Regions from separate parts of the Homo sapiens genome. Here regions 1 and 2 are each linked to region 3. The links are contacts of gene promoters, found by promoter capture Hi-C in human tissues and cell types (Jung and others, 2019). All regions are on one chromosome and are shown on one strand. The core of a region is centred on a gene start or on the middle of the fragment in contact, and the rest is flanking DNA. Distances in the headings are between cores, read along the strand shown. Region 1 overlaps AGBL2 (AGBL carboxypeptidase 2). Region 2 holds the start of MIR4487 (microRNA 4487). Region 3 holds the start of CKAP5 (cytoskeleton associated protein 5).

Region 1 (4,670 bases), core at 976-3,475, 850 kb before region 3:
AGTGCTGGGATTACAGCCATGAGCCACCGCACCCAGCTGGATGTTCCTCATTTTCTGTCTCCCTGCTTTATAATATTCGTTCATATGTGTTGTTATATGCTAAGTACAGTGCTTGGTGCTAGAGATAGTAGTGATGAGCAAAGTGGAGAGTTCATGGACCCAGAGTTCATGAACTAGTGGGGAAGTTAAACATTTTAACAGACAATTGCATAGTGCTTGGTCCCTCTGAGCATACCTAACCCAGCTTAGAGATCAGCATAAGTTTTCAAAAGGAGTTGACAACTAAGCTGAGATCTAAAGGATGAGTTCGAAATGATCCAATTAAGAGGGTCAAAGAAAAGTATTTCAGTTGGAAGAAACAGAAAAAGAGCATGGCATGCTTGGGCAACCATAGAACATTGAGCATTAAAAACAAGAGAAGAGTCTGAAAATATAGGGAAAAAATAAAAGTAGAGTTTATTTGACTTTATATTTTATTTTTGAGACAGGGTCTTGTTCTGTCACTCAGGCTGGAGTGCAGTGGTGCAATCATAGCTCACTGCAGCCTTGAACTCCTGGGCACAAGCCATCCTCCCCTCTCAGCCTCCTGAGTAGCTAGGACTATAGGCGTGCACCACCATGCCTGGCTAATTTTTTTTCTTTTTTTTTTTTTTTTTTTGAGAACAGAGTCTCGCTCTGTCGCCCAGGCTGGAGTGCAGTGGCATGATCTTGGCTCACTGCAACCTCCGCCTCCCAGGTTCAAGTGCTTCTCTGCCACAGCCTCCCAAGTAGCTGGGATTACAGGCACGTGCCACCACACTCTGCTCATTTTTTATATTTTTGGTAGAGACGGGGTTTCACCATGTAGGCCAGGCTGGTCTCGAACTCATGACCTCAAGTGATCTGCCTGCCTCAGCCTCCCAAAGTGCTGGGATTACAGGTGTAAGCCACTGTGCCCGGCCACCTGGCTCATTTTTAAATAGTTTTTTTGTAGAGACACATGGTCTCACTATGTTGCCCAGGCTACTCCCAAACTCCTGGCCTCAAATGATCCTCCTGGCCTCCTAAAGTGCTGAGATTACAGGTGTGAGCCACCACCCCCAGCAAGGACACTGGAATTTAATAACCAAGTTAATGCTGTGGTAATTCACTAAACTACAAGATCTTTTTTTTTTTTTTTTTTGAGACGGAGTCTTGCTCTGTCGCCCAGTCTGGAGTGCAATGGCACAATCTCGGCTCACTGCAACCTCCGCCTCCCAGGTTCAAGCAATCTCCCTCCTCAGCCTCCTGAGTAGCTGGGATTACAGGTGTGCACCACCACGCCTGGCTAATTTTTTACTTTTTTTAGTAGAGACGGGGTTTCACCATGTTGGTCAGGCTGGTCTCGAACTCCTGACCTCATGATCCGCCCGCTTCGGCCTCCCAAAGTGCTGGGATTACAGGCGTGAGCCACTCACTGCGCCCAGCCAACTACATGATCTTTTATAAAGCAATTTTTAAAAAAATGTTTCAAAGAAACTTATTAACAAACACCTTATTGTTTAAACTAAATTGTATTAATAAGCACCTTATTGGTTGTTTGTTTGTTTTTTTTTTTGAGACAGAGTCTCACTCTGTCGCCCAGGCTGGAGTGCGGTGGCACCGCGTCAGCTCACTGCAGCCTCTGTCTCCTGGGTTCAAGCAATTCTGCCTCAGCCTCCTGAGTAGCTGGGATTACAGGTGCCCACTGTAACTCGGCTAATTTTTGTATTTTTTAATAGAGACGGGGTTTCACCGTGTTGGCCAGGCTGGTCTCGATCTCCTGACCTCATGATTCACTCTCCTTGGCCTCCCAAAGTGCTGGGATTACAGGCATGCAAGCACCTTATTGTTTAAACTAAATTGTGAAAGCCTCATCACTTCCTATAATCTTCGAGAAAATAAATTCATGTAATATTTGACTGAGGTGTATCTTTATATGCTCTTGGAATTCATCAGTGGCTACTCTTCTAAAAATGATATTGAAAAGTTCAAGTTCCGTAAAGGAAATGTTTGTTTGTTTGTTTGTTGGTTTGTTTGTTTTAAATTTATTTTGAGACAGAGTCTTGCTCTGTTCGCCCAGGCTGGCACGCAGTGGCGTGATCTCGGTTCACTGCAACCTCCGCCTCCCAGGTTAGAGCGATTCTCCTACCTCAGCCTCCCGAGTAGCTGGGACTACAGGCACATGCCACAATACCCGGCTAATTTTTGTATTTTTAGTAGAGGCAGAGTTTCACTATGTTGGCCAGGCTGGTCTCGAACTCCCGACCTCAGGTAATCTACCCACCTTGTCCTCCCAAAGTGCTGGGATTACAGGCATAAGCCGCTGCACCCAGCCAAAGAAATCTTTTTAAATTCAGTGTTAATGAAAAAGCCTTCGCTAGGCACAGTGGCTCACACCTGTAATCCCAGCAGTTTGGGAGGCAGAGGAGGGCGGATCACCTGAGGTCGAGAGTTTGAGACCAGCCTGACCAACATGGAGAAACCCTGTCTCTACTAAAAATACAAAATTAGCCGGGAGTGGTGGCACATGTCTGTAATCCCAGCTACTCAGGAGGCTGAGGCGAGAGAATCGCTTGAACCCGGGAGGCGGAGGTTGCGGTGAGCCGAGATTGCACCATTGCACTCTAGCCTGAGCAATAGAGCAAGACTCCATCTCAAAAAAAAAGAAAGAAAAGAAAAAGGCTTGCTTCCTCTGAAACAATTGATAGACCTAGTCCTCTATGGTAATAAAAAAAATTATGTTAATGACCATATTTTGCTCACTTTAAGGAAACTCAGGGCCAAATTTTGAAGAGCTGTTGCAGCAGCTATATTGACCTTTCTGACTTATTCTTAGGTCTTCTATGGATAGTTTATATTTCATTTTATATGCTCTTTGTTAAAAGTGTCCTCATAAGTCTTTATAGAAAGAAACAAGACATAATTATTTTATAAACAAGCAGGAAATTTAGGGTGGGAATTTGGTTTGATTCAACCAAACTAGCCATTTGAAAAATTATTATTATTATTTTATATTAGTTCTGATAGTGCCGTTTACATTATTTCTTATTTTGTACTTTTTAAAATGTCTTCTTTCAGAGTGGGCTCCACCTCAACCAGAATATTTCTATCAGCCTAAAGGAAATGAAAAGGTACCAGAGATTGTAGGAGAGAAAAAAGGAACAGTTGTCTATCAATTAGATTCAGGTATTGTCATTACACTGAACAATGAATGGTTAATCATGACAAAGTTATAATAAACATATGTTCCATAATAAAAGTGATTTTAAAAATCCATAGTTTAGTGGTAAACTCTTTTCCAGGCCAACATGAGTGGGAGCCTGGAGGAGGAGTCATAACCAGTCTGCTGCAAAATTTCGATAATTTTCTAAAATCAAAGTACATTATTTTTAATAGTTCTAAGTCCATTTTACAGCTTCTCTCTTGTTATTCTCCTTCCTGAAAATCAGATGTTGGATCATCTTTGGGGAGATTTCTTTTCTCCACCTGTTATACGTACTTTAGTGAGTACTTTGTTCTATGTGCATATGACTGTCATTTAGTAATGCAGTTTCCTGTGTTGAGTTTTAAGCTTCTAAGGATTGAATATATATCTTTTATAGAAATATGCAGAACACCATACCTAACAACAACAAAATACTCATTCTTTTTTTTTTTTTTTTTTTGCCATTCCTACTGAAGTCATACACATTCTTTTTAAGGGTACCTGTTAGATTCCCCAGGATAAACCATATGTTAGGCCGTAATGGAAGTTTTTATACATGTAAAAGGATTAAAATAATACAAAGTACATTCTCTGACCATAATAAAATTAAGTTAGAAATCAACAACAGAATGAAATATGAGATATCCATAAATATGTGGAAATTGAATAACATCTTTCTAAATAAACTGTGGGTTAAAGAAATCACAAGTAGACTTCAAAAATATTTTGAATGTAGTGAAAATAAAACCATAACATATCAAAAGTTATAGGATGCAAAACAAAATGAACCAGTGCCAGGGATATTTATGGGTATTTATGGCTTTAAGTGCCTGAATTTCAAAACGAAAAAGGCTTCTTATCAATTACCTAAGCTTCTACCTTAGTAAACTGGAAAAATAAGAGCCAACTAAACCCAAAGCAAGCAGCAGGAAAGTAGTAATAAAAATAAGAATGTGGCTGGGCGCTGTGGCTCACGCCTATAATCCCAGCACTTTGGGAGGCCGAGGCAGGCAGACCACCTGAGGTTGGGAGTTCCAGACCAGCCTGACCAACATGGAGAAACCCTATCTCTACTGAAAATACAAAATTAGCCAGGTGTGGTAGTGCATGCCTGCAATCCCAGCTACTTGGGAGGCTAAGGCAGGAGAGTCTCTTGAACCTGGGAAGCAGAGGTTGTGGTGAGCCAAGATCGTGCCATGCACTCCAGCCTGGGCAACAAGAGTGAAACTCCGTCTCAAAAAAAAAAAAAAAAAAAAAATTATGTAGACTGGGCTTGGTGGCTCATACCTGTAATGCCAGCACTTTGGGAGGCCAAGATGGGCAGATCACCTGAGGTCGGCAGTTCGAGACCAGCCTGCCCAACATGGTGAAACTCTGTCTCTACTAAAACACAGTAAATTAGCCAGTCATGGTGGCAGGCGCCTGTAAACCCAGCTACTCAGGAGGCTGAGGCAGGAGAATCGTT
Region 2 (4,666 bases), core at 547-3,046, 550 kb before region 3:
CCATTTTTTTCTCCAAATATTTTCCATCCGAGGTTGGTTGAATCCATGGATGTGGAACCCAGGGATACAGAGAGCCGCAAGTATCCATCTTCTGGGACTGACTTTTTCCACTCAATACCATGGTGCAAAGATTCCTTCATGATATTGGTGAACCTGTGGGTCACCTGCTTGCATTGCTGAATGATCTCCACCCTGTGAATGTGTCTACTGTAATTTATTTATCCATTCTCTTATCAGTGGGCCCTGGGGTTATTTCAGGATTTTTTTTGCTATTAGGGACAACGTGAATATTTTTGTCCCTGTCTCTTGGCGCACTTGTCAGAGAACTTATCTTGATTTGCTGCCTGGGGGGATGTGTGGGTGACAGCCTCTGTACCTCCACTTCGTGAGATAAGGCCAGATTGCTCTCCCTAGGGGGCTATTTGGAGCCGCATCCTGACTAGCCACATGCAGGAGGGCCTGCTGCTCCCCTCCTTGCCAGCTCTGGCTGAAGGACAGTTCCCTTCTGCCCTTCAGCCAGCTCTGGCTGAAGGACAGTTCCCTTCTGCCCTTCAGCCAGCTCTGGCTGAAGGACAGTTCCCTTCTGCCCTTCAGATGGTGTAAATAGCATCTCATTGTGGTCTGAATTTGCATCGCCCTCATCAGCAGTGAGGCTGAGCCTCCCTTAGATGGTATTTGAGCAAATTCGTTTTCTCTGCCCTAACATGCCTGCGCTGCGTGTGTGTTATCTATTTTTTTATATTGGATTGCTTGATTTTCTTTTCCTTGATTTGCAAGAGTTCCTTATGTATTTTTGAGGCTATGCCCCGCTGCACTCCGCAGGCATCTCCAGTTGTGACTTCCTTTTCACTTTCTCTGAGGTGTCTCCGCTTCTCTCTCCCCCCCCCACACCTGTCCCAGGGAGGCCACTTGGCATTGTTAGTGTGGGGGGAGGTCGTGTGCCTCTCAGAGCCCTGTTTAAACTGACTCCACTGTTCCTCTTGTCCCTGGGGCCTTAAGGAACCCCTTTCCTCTTCCTTCTCAGACCCCCTCCCATTTTTGGCGAAGACAACTTAGTTTGGGGAGCTCCTATTGGGTTGTGGGCGAGTATCCCGGGACAACTCGGGCCTCACTGCAATGGTGTCCCCCCCCCCCCGTCTCGGTTATTTATCACTTCCGGCTGCCCACCTGGGGGGGCTGGGCCCCCTCTCCGCTCGACTGGGCCGCAGCCGGGCAGCTCGGGCGCTCCCCTGGGGGCGGGCGGCGCGGGGGAGGGGCCCTAGGGGGGCGGGGCCGGGGGCCGGGCCTGCGGCGGGGGCTGGAGTTGGGGGGCGGAAGCTGCCGGAGCAGATAAGGGCCGAGGTCGGCCCTGCGGTGGGACAGTGCGGGACACCGCCTCCGCCCCCGGCCTCCCCAGAGCGCCCCCGCACCCTGGAGACCCCCTCCTGCTACCCAGGCTTGGCATCCCGGGAGGAGACCCCAGGGAGCAGTGGGGGATGAGGCTCCAGCCTGCTCACAGCCTCAGCGACGAGCGGCAGCGGGGCTTCACGCCTCAGTTATCTCAGCTGGAAAATGGGGGTAGGAGCTCGGTTTTCCCCACAGGGCTGTTGGTGATGGACCAAGTGCAGGCTTGTGAAGGTCTCTGTGGGTTGGGCGAGTTTTGAACAGAGGGTCCTCTAAGCATCGCATCGCCTCATTCATCCCCATTGTATAGATGGCAAAGTGGGGAGTTTCACCCAAAGCCCCAGAGCCAGCATGCAAAAAGCAAGTGGGAGGGGGTTGGAACGCTTTCCACCGCCCCACCCTGGGGACAGATCTAGGTTCCCAGGAGCCTGAAGCTTAAAACCATTTGGGGGGGCACTCTTTAAGGAAAAGATTACAAAGTCACAAATACAAAATTGCTGAGAGGCTGGGCGCAGTGGCTCACACCTGTAATCCCAGCACCTTGGGAAGCCAAGGTGGGCGGATCACTTGACGTCAGGAGTTCCAGACCAGCCTGGCCAACATGGTGAAACCCTGTCTCTACTAAAATACACAAATTAGCTGGACGTGATGGTGGGCGCCTGTAATCCCAGCTACTCGGGAGACTGAGGCAGGAGAATCGTTGAACCCGGGAGGCAGAGGTTGCAGTGAGCTGAGATGATCGCACCACTGCACTCCAGTCTGGGTGACAGAGCTAAACTCTGTCTCAAAACAAAAAACAAAAACAAAACAAAACAAAACAAAACAGCCGTTCGCGGTGGCTCACACCTGTAATCTCAACACTTTGGGAGGCCAAGGTGGGTGGATCACCTGAGGTCAGGAGTTCGAGACCAGCCTGGCCAACGTGGTGAAATCCTGTCTCTACTAAAAATACAAAACATAAAATAAAATAATTAGCCAGGCGTGGTGGCGCTCTCCTGTAGTCCCAGCTACTCGGGAGGCTGAGGCAGCAAAATTACTTGAACCCGGGAGGCAGAGGTTGCAGTGAGCCGAGATTGTGTCACTGCATTCCAGCCTGGGCAATAGAGTGAGACTTCATCAAAAAAAAAACCAAAAAAATAAAAAACAAAAACAAAATTGCTGAGACCCCTTCCAGGGCCTCAGAAGGAGCTGAGCCAGTGAGGAAGCTCAAATGCAGCTTTCTTAGTGTCTCAGCCCCACCATGCAGGCCCCCTGGAAGGGGTTATACCCCTCTCCCAAGAAAGTCAGACACCAACAAGCTTAGAGGGCAGGGTGGCCCAAGGCAATATGTCAGGGAGGTGCCGCTGCAGCTGGTCCCCAACCCCTTGCATGCCCAGGCAGCAGTCCCTCAGCCCAACCAAGAGCAAGGGCAGTCAGGTATTTGCAGACTGCAGCCTCAGCCAGGCAGGGCCAAGCCCTCCAGTCCCATCCAGTCATGGTTCAACTTGCCACCCAGGGCCCCAACCCTGCAAGCTAGGAAGGTACAGAAGAACTCCTAGGAGAAAAGGAAGGAGGGGCTCTCAGGTATATGTAAGTGCATGGGACTTGGAGTTAGACAGGATTGGGGTTCAAGCCCCTGCAAGGCTGTGTGACCTTGGGACATCTCTTTTCCCTGGGTTTCCTCGTATGTAAAATGGGAGTAATAATCGTACCTACTGGACAGAGCCGGTGCCTGAAGGAGGGCTGGGCCCATGGCTGTTAGAAACACATTTCCCTCCTGTGAGATCTCCAGGCCAGGAGAGGCATTTTCTCCCATTTTCATGTTGTCACTTACCCAGGGGGTGGTCTCTCCATTGCAGAGCTGAGATTTAAATGCGGAAATGTCTGGTGCAGATGCACTCAGGTCTCACCACCAGGAATGCTGCCTCTTTGGGCCTGTCTCCCAGGGAGTTAAGTCCCACTGTTACGTGTTCATGCCCAGGGCTGAGAGCCAAGGGGAGCCTGGCTCATCCCCTTTCTGGATTTTATCATCTCTCTGGTCCCATGGGCACCTGAGGCTGGAATTTTTTCAACTCTGATATCCTCCAGCCTGGACCAGGAGAAGCAGGACAACTGAGAATAGGGACAGGGTAGGGGAGCTGGGAAGAGGTGGTGGCCGTGGGCCTGGAGGCAGCAGTGAGACTCTAAAAGGCTTGAAGTCTTTTTCCAAAGAGATGCTGCTTTGCCTCAGGGTTTGCATGGGACTTCCACTGGATGGGCACACAGGAAAACTGAGTTCTCATCTCAGCATTGCCCCTTTCTTTTACTTTTTTTTTTTTTTTTTTTTTGAGACGGAGTCTTGCTTTGTCACCCTGTTACCTAGGCTGGAGTGCAATGGCATGATATCGGCTCACTGCAACCTCCGCCTCCTGGGTTCAAGCTATTCTTGTGCCTCAGCCTCCTGAGTAGCTGGGATTACAGCTGCCCGCCACCATGCCCAGCTAATTTTTGTATTTTTAGTAGAGATGGGGTTTCACCATGTTGGCCAGACTGGTCTCGAATTCCTGACCTCAGGTGATCCACTTGCCTTGGCTTCCCAATGTGCTGAGATTACAGGTGTGAGCCATTGCGCCCGGCCAGTGCTGCCCCTTTCTAGCCAGCTGAGCTTGCACCTGTCAGTCCTCCCCGAGCCTCAGTTTCCTTATCTGTGAAATGGGGATGAGAATACCTGCATCGTCAAGGATTACAAGATGCTGTGTATGTAGAGTGCCTGGTGAATACCTCTAGTTATTAAGACAGTCTCGGGGCAGCAGTGGGGATGTCATGTGAGGGGCACAGAGTGTGAGCAGAACTGGGGAGTCCTGCCAAGGTGGGAGTTGGGGCCTCTAAGGTTTCTGTCCCAGAGAGGGAGCACCTTGAGGGTGGGGCTGGGAACCTCAGCTTCAGGACTCCTCCAGGTCAGGAAGGGCCAGAGGGAGGCCAGGGAGGGGCCCTGGGGGTTCTCAGAGAAGAGTGGCGAGCTGGAGTGTTCACCCCAACTCAGGCAGGTGAGAGGGGGGCGACAGGTGGGTGGCCGCAGTGTGTTGCCGGCCAAACGATTACCCCAAGGCCCCACTCCACAGCCTCATTTGTCCCTCATTGCAAACTTCTGAGCTAGGCATTTCTCCATTTGTTTATTTACTTATTTTATTTTATTTATTTATTTATTTTGAGACAGTCTCACTCTGTCACCCAGGCTGGAGTGCAATGGCATGGTCTCGGCTCACTGCAACCTCCGCCTCCCGGGTTCAAGCTATTCTCCCGCCTCAGCCTCTCAAGTAGCTGA
Region 3 (4,442 bases), core at 1,706-4,205:
AAAAGAATTGTTCTTAACCTTCTGTGTCAATCTTGTGTTCCACTACTTCCCAACAAAATTTCAGTCCTAAAATCAACCCCACATGTTCAGTCCCATACATACGATGCACTTTGCTGTTTCTGCGCCCTGACTCACACTTTCCCCACTACTCTCTGCTCCTTCTATGAAAGAAAAAAGAAACACACCACGTTAACAGTAAAAATTCATTTCCCTCCCAAGTCCCACTCCTATTAAGTTTCTTATAATTCCAGGAATGTTCTAACCATTTTCAGGCATGCCCTCAAACACACATACGTTTATAACCATATATAATAAAATCATTCCACAAGTTCTGCAACTTGCCTTTTTTTCAATTAATAAAATTTGTGCATGTTTCTGTTCCAGCACATAGATTAACCGCATTCTTTTTAACAGTTTCATAGTGTTCTATTGAATGGATATGTCATAATTTATGTAAAAGGTTCCCTGTTGATGAACATGTAATTTCCAGATTTTTTATTTTTTTTAGAGACAGCGTCTCACTCTGTCACGCAGGCTGGAGTACAGTGGCGTGATCATAGCTCACTGCAGCCTTGACCTCCCACACTCCAGCAATCCTCCACCTCAGCCTCCCAAAGCACTGGGATTACAGGCATGAGCCACCATGCCTGGCCTCCAGATTTATTTTTTTATTTTATTTTATTTTTATCTTAAGCAGTGCTGGCTGGGCACAGTGGCTCACAGCTATAATCCCAACAGTTTGGGAGGCCGAGGCGGGTGGATCACTTGAGGTCAGGAGTTCAAGACCAGCCTGGCCAACAGGTGAAACCCCGTCTCTACCAAAAATACAAAAAATTAGCTGGGCTTGGTGGCACATGCCTGTAATCCCAGCCACTTGGGAGGCTGAGATAGGAGAATCGCTTGATCCTGGGAGGTGGAGGTTGCAGTGAGCTGAGATGGTGCCATCGCACTCCAGCCTGGGCGAGAGAGCGAGACTTCATCTCAAAAGAAAAAAAAAGAAAAAAAAAAAAGGGCCGGGCACAGTGGCTCACGCCTGTAATCTCGGCACTTTGGGAGGCTGAGGCAGGTGGATGACCTGAAGTCAGGAGTTTGAAACCAGCTTGACCAACATGGTGAAACCCCATCTCTGTTAAAAATACAATAAAAAATAATTAGCCGGGCGTGGTGGCAGGTGCCTGTAATCCCAGCTACTTGGGAGCCTGAGGCAGGAGAATTGCTTGAACCCGGGAGATGGAGGTTGCAGTGAGCCAAGATCACGCCATTGCACTACAGCCCGGGTGACATGAGAGAGACTCTGTCAGAAAAAAAAAAAAAAAAAGCCGGGTGCAGTGGCTCACGCCTGTAATCCCAGCACTTTGGGAGGCCCAGGCGGGAGGATCACGAGGTCAGCAGATCAAGACCAGCCTGGCTAACACAGTGCAACTCCGTCTCTACTAAAACTACAAAAAATTAGCCAGGTGTGATGGCACGTGCCTGTAGTCCCAGCTACTCAGGAGGCTGAGGCAGGAGAATCGCTTGAACACGGGAGGCGGAGGTTGCAGTGAGCTGAGATTGCGCCACTGCACTCCAGCCTGGGCGACAGAGCGAGACTGTCTCAAAAAAAAAAAAAAAAAAAGCAGTATTGCAGTAAACATCCTTGTACATTTTTCTTTGCATACTTGCACAGATCTGTACGATAAATTCCTCATAGTGGATTACTGGGCCAGAACTAGATTATGTACATTTTAGTAACTGTCAAATTGTCCTCCTAAAGGTTTGTACCAATTATACTCTTACCAATATTGACTTTGAGTGTCCATTTTTCCAAATCTCTTTATATTTTTAAAAACAGAGATGGGGTCTTGATAGCAAGACCCAGGTTGGTCTTGAACTCCTGGCCTCAAGCAATCCTCCTGCCTCGGCCTCCCAAAGCGCTAGGATTACAGGCATAAGCCATTGCACCCAGCCTGTTTTTCCAAATCTTGACCAACCAAAGGCTGTTGAACTTTTTCATCTCTGCCAACTTGACAATGAAAAAACATGTAATTGTTTCATTTACTTTTATCCATCCTCTCTCCATCTTTTAGCCTGTTGGGAATCTACACATTCTTTAAATCCTAGGTTAAAAATTCATCTTCCTCACAGATCCTCCCCCATCAAATTTCTCCTGTCTCTAAGCATTTATAGCTTTTCATTTATACAGTTATTACACTGCTTTGAATTTTAGTGACTAGTCTGTATGTTATATTCCTCCAACCACTGTAGATTACAAATTCCTTGGAAGTAAGGACCTGAACTCATTCACAGAAACACTGAATGTAGAGCTAAGCTAAAATTCTGGAGATCATGTTAACCAAGCCTCTCGTTTTTATAAGGGAATATTAAGCATTTGCAGGATGCGTTACAGTTCACAAAGGCTTTTCTCAGACATTCTATTAGTTATATTAACTCCTCCATTAAATTGTAAGGGAAACATCGTTATCCCATTTTACAGATAAGGAAACAACTCCAGAAGATTTACTGAGAAAAGTGATTTACTCAGAACAGTTCCAAGGTCAGAATCCAGCATCCTGGCTTCATTCGCTGTTACTTCCACGACATCTCAGCTGCCTCTGGTTTCCCTCACAGCACTTAGCTTCACAATCTCTAGGGAATGAAATGACCAAAAAAAATTGTCGGGTGTTGACAGCAGCCTGAACATCTGTAATTAAATAAAGCAAACATGCTGACGACCAAGGATGCCCGGGTCTACACACATTCTTTCGCCTTTCTTTCTGGAGTCGGCAGACTTGCCCCCGGCAGCGACCAGCGTCCCCACCCGTGCAGGCGGCGTCTGGTCCAGAGGGAAACACGGCTGCGCGCGGCCCCTTTAAGGCTGCGGGCGGCGCGTGCCCACAGGCCTTTCAAATGGACCAATAAAAGTCCGATGGGCGGTCCGTCGAGGACCAATAAAGAACGAGGACACTGCGGGGTGTGCGGCGGCCCAAGCGGTTTCAAACGGCTTAGAGCAGGCCGCTTGGTTCTGACCCAGCTGAGGTGAGTGGTCGGTGGGCCTGCCCCACCCGCGAGGCCCTCGAGTGCAGGCATCGCGCGCGCAGAGGAGCCCCTGAATCCTGGGCGGCTGGAGGTCTCCAGACGCGCGCCCCACTTGCCCCACGAACCCGGCAGGTCTGAGGCGGCGAAGCGAGCCGGAGGCCGGGGGACCTGCGGCGGGCAGGGCCGGGGGCGTGGGCGCTCGTGTGCGGCGGAGGCCGGGGTTGGGCTCCAGGTGGCCAGAGCGCGCCGCAGCGTGGCGCGGGTGGCAGCGTCCGCGGGGCGCGGGCGGTGCAGGGCCGCGCCTGGCGGCAGCGATTTACCAAGACTAGGGCGGGGGCCCCGAGAGCCGGCCCTGCTAGAGTGCCTCTCGCGTAATTGTCAAGTGAATGAATAAGTAAGCGCCTACGAGGGCTGTGGTGGTTGCGAAGGGCCTTGTCGCCCTGGAGCAAGGACAGCGGCACCGGGGCCTGGCCGCACACCTGTGTCCCTGCTGGCTTGCTGCGATGTGAACGATTCCGATCATCCACCACCCCGCCCTTAACGACTGGCTTTCTCTCTCTCAACGTGTCGGGAGCGTTCTGGTGTCCTTCCAGCCCTGGAGGTGTTGGGGAACCAATACAATAGCCAGCAGTGTGGGTTGGGCCTTGCTACTTTAAGGTCGGGCTCGGTGAACTAGATTCTTACTTTTGAGCTCTCCCCTCTACTTGTAATCGTGGTAATTGTTGAGCAGGATTGAAATGCATTCCGTTGTGTTTCTTGGATAGAAAATGATGAAAGGGTTGTTGCCAGAGTGGCTAGTGTGTGTTAGAAAATATATTCGTGTTGATGAATCTTAACAATGAGTTTTTTATTCAGCATCAATAGAGGTTGAAGTGGTTTTTGCAGAACTTGCCCCAAATTTATGCGTGGCTCTAATTTAATTCTCATGGGACCAAGGCATCAAATCTTGGCCCAGAAATGCTGCCTGTCTTATGCATAATTATAGTAATTGAAAACTCATTTTTAGAAAGGTGAGCTCCTCCTTCCTCCATTTTCATCACCCTGAAAAGTCCTTCTTTTGACCTAAAGAGCCAATAAATTAAGCTAAGAATCTTTTGAAACTTTAAGAAATTGTAGAAGACTTTGACTTCTCTGAAGTGACTGGACAAACTGTAATGCTTTTACCAAATTTAATGATATAGATAAAGGTGAAATCAATTTATTTTGCAACCATAAGTTAAATCTAGTTGGTAAACTCATGTAAAAAAATTTTTAAATAAGATTTTAGGCTGGGCGCGGTGGCTGACGCCTGTAATCCCAACACTTTGGGAGGCCGAGGCGGGCGGATCACGAGGTCAGGAGTTTGAGACCAGTCGGGCCAACATGGTGAAACCCCGTCTCTCTCTCTCTCTCTCTACTAAAAATACAAAAAATGGCTGGGCGTGATG

The links. The method cuts DNA at HindIII sites, captures the fragments that hold promoters and counts their contacts. A contact is called where the count stands out against the background at its distance.
Region 1: a fragment that was not itself captured here is called in contact with the fragment with the promoter of CKAP5 in region 3 in 1 of the 25 tissues and cell types used here (spleen).
Region 2: a fragment that was not itself captured here is called in contact with the fragment with the promoter of CKAP5 in region 3 in 2 of the 25 tissues and cell types used here (dorsolateral prefrontal cortex and lymphoblastoid cells).

What each region holds. Positions count from the first base shown.
Region 1 is chr11:47,697,962-47,702,631 of GRCh38, reverse strand. It overlaps AGBL2 (AGBL carboxypeptidase 2), which reads left to right. Exons shown (of 19, transcript NM_024783.4): 8 at 3,079-3,186. Among named protein-coding and RNA genes, the nearest start is that of AGBL2, 15 kb to the left of the region's middle. The HindIII fragment of the contact is 3,199 bases long and covers 626-3,824 here.
Region 2 is chr11:47,396,881-47,401,546 of GRCh38, reverse strand. The region is part of intron 2 of SLC39A13-AS1 (SLC39A13 antisense RNA 1); the gene reads left to right. MIR4487 (microRNA 4487) reads right to left here and starts at 577; the gene lies at 505-577. RefSeq lists an enhancer at 109-1,109 and a silencer at 1,159-1,518. The HindIII fragment of the contact is 6,212 bases long and covers 1-4,666 here.
Region 3 is chr11:46,844,793-46,849,234 of GRCh38, reverse strand. It overlaps CKAP5 (cytoskeleton associated protein 5), which reads left to right and starts at 2,955. Exons shown (of 44, transcript NM_001008938.4): 1 at 2,955-3,015. LRP4-AS1 (LRP4 antisense RNA 1) reads right to left here and starts at 2,824. Exons shown (of 3, transcript NR_038909.1): 1 at 2,736-2,824; 2 at 2,518-2,625. RefSeq lists enhancers at 2,561-2,680, 3,135-3,712 and silencers at 2,891-2,970, 3,151-3,300. The HindIII fragment of the contact is 16,643 bases long and covers 1-4,442 here.